Linked DNA regions of Homo sapiens: region 1 is linked to region 2. Evidence: promoter capture Hi-C in 16 types of primary human blood cells and fetal thymus (Javierre and others, 2016). All regions are on one chromosome and are shown on one strand. Each heading gives the region's core, a stretch centred on a gene start or on the middle of the fragment in contact. The rest is flanking DNA. Distances are from core to core; before and after follow the strand shown.

Evidence for each region. The method cuts DNA at HindIII sites, captures the fragments that hold promoters and counts their contacts. A CHiCAGO score of 5 or more calls a contact.
Region 1: a contact is called between a fragment that was not itself captured here and the fragment with the promoter of TMEM209 in region 2, in 1 of 17 cell types (naive CD8 T cells). The highest score is 5.4, in naive CD8 T cells.

Annotation. Positions count from the first base shown.
Region 1 is chr7:130,764,923-130,767,622 of GRCh38, reverse strand. All of the region lies in intron 3 of LOC105375508 (a long non-coding RNA gene), which reads right to left. Among named protein-coding and RNA genes, the nearest start is that of KLF14, 32 kb to the right of the region's middle. The HindIII fragment of the contact is 4,409 bases long and covers 1-2,700 here.
Region 2 is chr7:130,204,058-130,206,799 of GRCh38, reverse strand. TMEM209 (transmembrane protein 209) reads left to right here and starts at 1,394. Exons shown (of 15, transcript NM_032842.4): 1 at 1,394-1,427; 2 at 2,690-2,742. The coding sequence starts at 1,425. It also overlaps a transcript of SSMEM1 not described here. RefSeq lists enhancers at 1,130-1,239, 1,300-1,479, 1,156-1,955 and a silencer at 2,617-2,742. The HindIII fragment of the contact is 16,046 bases long and covers 1-2,742 here.

The sequences.
Region 1 (2,700 bases), core at 152-2,651, 560 kb before region 2:
AGCTAATTTTTTTTTTTTTTTGGTTTTTTGTTAGTAGAGACAGGGTTTCACTATGTTGCCCAGGCTGGTCTGGAACTCCTGACCTCAAGTTATCTGCTCACCTCAGCCTCCCAAAGTGCTGCGATTACAAGCATGAGCCAGTATGCCTGGCCTCACTTCACTTTTAAGGACATACATTGATTGAAAGTGAAAATATTGAGAAAGATAATCCATGAAAATGGAAACCAAAAGAGAACAGAGGTAACTAACCTCGTATCAGATAAAACAGACTTTAAGTTGACACTATAAAGTGAAACAAAGAAGGTCATTATATAATGATTACAAGGCCAATTAATCAAGAAGATATAATGATTGTAAATATATATGCACCCAACATTGGAGCACCTAAATAAATAAAGCTCACCTCTATGCAAATAAACTAGAAAATATAGAAGAAACGGATAAATAACAGGACACATACACCCTCCCAAGACTAAACCAGGAAGAAGCTGAATCTCTGAACAGACCAATAACAGGTTCTGAAATTGAGGCAATAATTACTAACCTACCAACCAAAAAAAGTCCAGGACCAGACAGATTCACAGCTGAATTCTACCAGAGGTACAAAGAGGAGATGCTTCCATTCCTTCTGAAACGATTCCAGTCAATAGAAAAAGAGGGAATCTCCCTAACTCATTTCATGAGGCCAGGATCATCCTGATACCAAAGCACGGCAGAGACACAACAAAAAAAGAGAACTTTAGGCCAATATCCCTTATGAATATCAACGCAAAAATCCTCAATAAAATACTGGTAAACTGAATCCAGCAGCACATCAAAATGCTTATCCACCACGATCAACTTGGCTTCATCCCTGGGATGCAAGGCTGGTTCAACATATGCAAATCAATAAATGTAATCCATCACATAAACAGAACCAATGACAAAAAACACGATTATCTCAATAGACGCAGAAAAGGCCTTTGCCAAAATTCAGCAGCCCTTCATGCTAAAAATTCTCAGACTAGGTATTGATGGAACATATCTCAAAATAATAGGAGTTATTTATGACAAACCCACAGCCAAATCATACTGAATGGGCAAAACCTGGAAGCACTCCCTTTGAAAACTGGCACAAGACAAGGATGCCTCTCTCACCACTCCTATTCAACATGGTGTTGGAAGTTCTGGCCAGGACAATCAGGCAAGAGAAAGAAATAAAGGGTATTCAATTAGGAAAATAGGAAATCAAATTGTCTGTTTGCAGATGACATGATTGTATACTTAGAAAACCCCATCGTCTCAGCCAAAATCTCCTTAAGATGATAAGCAACTTCAGCAAAGTCTCAGGATACAAAACCACTGTGCAAAAATCACAAACATTCCTATACACCAATAACAGAGAGCCAAATCATGAGTGAACTCGCATCCACAATTGCTACTAAGAGAATAAAATACCTTGGAATCCAACTTACAACGGGTGTGAAGGAACTCTTCAAGGATAACTACAAACCACTGCTCAAGGAAATAAAAGAGGACACAAACAAATAGATAAACATTCCACGCTCATGGAGAGGCAGAATCAGTATTGTGAAAATGGCCATACTGCCCAAAGTAATTTATAGATTCAATGCTATCCCCATCAAGCTACCACTGAATTTCTTCACAGAATTGAAAAAAAAACTACTTTAAACTTCATATGGAACCAAACAGGAGCCCACATAGCCAAGACAATATTGGGGAAGAAGAACAAAGCTCAAGGCATCACACTACCTGACTTCAAACTATACTACAAGGCCATAGTAACCAAAACAGCATGGTACTGGTACTAAAACAGATATATAGACCAACAGAACAGAACGGAGGCCTCAGAAACAATGCCACACAGCTACAACCATCTGATCTTTGACAAACCTGACACACACAAGCAATGGGGAAAAAGATTTCCTATTTAACAAATGGTGTTGGGAAAACTGGCTAGCCATATGCAGAAAACGGAAATGCCCTTACCCCTTCTACAAAAATCAACTCAAGATGGATCAAAGACTTAGACATAAGACCCAGGACCATAACAATCTTAGAAGAAAACCTGGGCAATACCATCAGGACATAGGCATGGGCAAAGACTTAACGTCCAAAACACCAAAAGCAATGGCAACAAAAGACAAAATTGACAAACAGGATCTAATTAAACTAAAGAGCTTCTGCATAGCAAAGGAACCTATCATCAGAGTGAACAGACAACCTACAGGATGGGAGAAAATTTGTGCAATCTATCCATCTGACAAAGGGCTAATATCCAGAATCTACAAAGAACTTAACCAAATTTACCAGGAAAAAACAACCCCATCAAAAAATGGGCAAAGGATATGAACAGATACTTATGAAAAGAAGACATTTATGCAGCCAACAGACATATGAAAAAATGCTCATCATCACTGGCCATTAGAGAAATGCAAATCAAAACCACAGTGAGAAACCATTTCACACCAGTTAGAATGGCAATCATTAAAAAGTCAGGAAACAACAGGTGCTGGAGAGGATGTGGAGAAATAGGAACGCTTTTACACTGTCGGTGGGAGTGTAAATTAGTTCAACCATTGTGGAAAACAGTGTGGCGAGTCCTCAAGGATCTAGAACTAGAAATACCATTTGACCCAGCAATCCCATTACTGGGCATATACCCAAAGGATTATAAATCATTCTACGATAAAGACACAG
Region 2 (2,742 bases), core at 145-2,644:
TTGGCCAGGCTGGTCTCCATCTCCTGACCTCGTGATCCGCCCGCCTCGGCCTCCCAAAGTGTTGGGATTACAGGCGTGAGCCACCGCGCCCGGCCGGTATTCTAATTTTGATTGCACCTTGAGCCCTTTCACTTTGAACAATTTTCCAGTTAGTTCATCTCTAAATCTAAAACTAGAGCAAAACAACATTGCTGCTAAAGCAATCTAAAAATGATAAAACTTAACAGCTCTTCAAGAGCACAGCATACCTGCCGATTTTCATTAATATACAATACCACGTGGTATTAATCTTAGGATCATTTTAGGAAAAACTTTGGCCATTGGACATACATGATGTAATCCACTAGCTTACTGTGGCATGGCTTAATGTTTTTATTAGGAGGCACACTTCAGAACAAGTCCCCAGGCCCTGGGTTTCTGGCTGTGGACTCTAACGCGTCATCTCCTCCAGGAAGCTCGCGAGAGCTGGGGCTGGGCTGGATGCGCCTCCTTGGGGAGCACTGCATCCACCTCACCTGCCACCGAAATGCATCTGTGGGCCTCCGCTGGGGTTGAGCTCCTCTGGGTAATAACCAGGAAGGTCTTATTTTCTATATCCGTGCGCCTGGCTCAGCGGCACACTTGTAGGTATTTGTGCTAAATAAAACAAAGCTCAACCTTTTCCTCAGGATGAGCAGCTCTTCCAAAAAATACATACGAAAATGTGTTATTATTTTTAACCTCAAAACCACTAGCAACTTCAATAAAACAAATTTTGGGTGTGCTTGTTATTGCTGCACCCTATTAAACAGATTAAGAATTTAGGCCGGGCGCGGTGGGCCACGCCTGTAATCCCAAAAGGCGGTGGGAGGCCAGCAGGCGTTTGGGAGGCTGAGGCGGGCGGATCCCTTGAGGTTAGGAAATCGAGACCAGACTGGCCAACATGGCGAAACCCTGTCTCTACCAAAAAAAAAATTACATGGGGTCAGGACTCTTGACATAGATACTTTAACACAGGGGAAAGAAATGCTTTGTCACTGATGGTGTCTGGCCACTTTATCACGCCACTCTATCCTACGGTGAGCCGCCCTACTTAATCAGTTTACACATGTGAGTCCATAAATGCCCTAGGGAAGCTAAAATTATATTAATAGATACAAAATTCAGCTTGTTACAATTATTACTTTTTACTGCGGGTTCAGAGCCTGGTCTGAATTTTGCTGCTTAGCTTTCTCCCGCAGCTGAGTGGGAGCCGCAAAACCGAGACCTGTTTCCCTGGTAACGCTCCGAGCGCCTGGGCCTGCGACCCCTCCCTTTCTCGCGAGAAGAGACTACCTAGTTCTTCCGGTAACTTTAGAGCCGCTTGCCGGTGGCCTCCCGCTTGAGCTTGGCTTTGCGCATGCCCAGAGAGAGTGGCGCGAGCCTGCGTTTTCCGGCCAGAGGACATGGTGCGTTTTCGGGGTCGTGTTTGTGCTTCCTGTCTTGGAATCTACGCGGGTTGTGGGAGTTCCGCGCCTGCTGATCTGTCCTGGGTTCAGCCAAGGGGGATGTGGCTAGGCGTTCCGCCTCTCTAGGGGAAGGGAAGAAAGAAGCAATAGGGTTGCTGAAGTTCGTGCCCAGGAGCCGGGGAGGGAAGCTCTGGACTGGGAAATTGGGACGCGGGGGCTGAGTGGCGCGAAAGCTATTGCTCTGTCCTCTGTGGGATACGACTGCTTGTCGCTGGAACAAGTTTTGCACGGTCTGTAAGAGTTGAGCCTAGCTGAAGAAAGGAGGAATTATAAATCCCAAATGTGGACCAAAACAATGCACGTTTTCCCCTCTCTCCCTCTTACTCCGCTCACCACCCCATCATAAGTACGTGCCCTTCTAAAACTTGGATCCTTGTCCTTTATCCACACACAAAAGGGAGAGCCCTGGAGTACAGCTGTCCAAGTGCAGAGTTGTTGAGATAGTAATGGCGTCTGCATGAGGATGTACAACAGTCTTTATGACTTACAGCAGATATGGAATATAGTCTCCCAAAACTTGACATTTTGAGTTTCTGAAGTTAGCCTTTTGCCTAGTCCGTGTAACATACCCCAAAGACAAAATACAAAGTATTTCTAGACATAACCCTTAAATTACAAAATAAGACATTTTTATGTATTGGAAGTATTAAATTGTTCTTAAATAACCAGCCACGGCTGGGCGCGGTGGCTCACGCCTGTAATCCCAACACTTTGGGAGGCCGAGGCGGGTGGATCACAAGGTCAGGAGTTCGAGACCAGCCTGGCCAAAATGTTGAAATCCCGTCTCTACTAAAAATACAAAAATCAGTCGGACGCGGTGGCGGGCGTCTGTAATCCCAGCTACTCGGGAGTCTGAGGCAGGAGAATCGCTTGAACCCGGGAGGCGGAGGTTGCAGTGAGTCGAGATCGCGCCACTGCATTCTAGCCTGGGAGACAGCAAGACTCCGTCTCAAAACAAATAAATAGATAAATAACCAGCCACTTCTCTGTTGATTACACTGTGATGCCAATTAAGTTACATATAATTTTGGGTTCCCTTTTCATATACTGATATTAAAATGGAAGAAGTTTTGATAAAACATTTTAAAGATGAGAGAAGGTATATGCGGTTTCAGTTACCTTTATAAGGGATGCAAAATTTGGTTTTTAAATGGAGCAATAGTTTCTTCTGGTTAATTCCTGTGCTTTTTGTTTTTTCATAGATGCAGGGGGAGGCACACCCTAGTGCTTCCCTTATTGACAGAACCATCAAGAT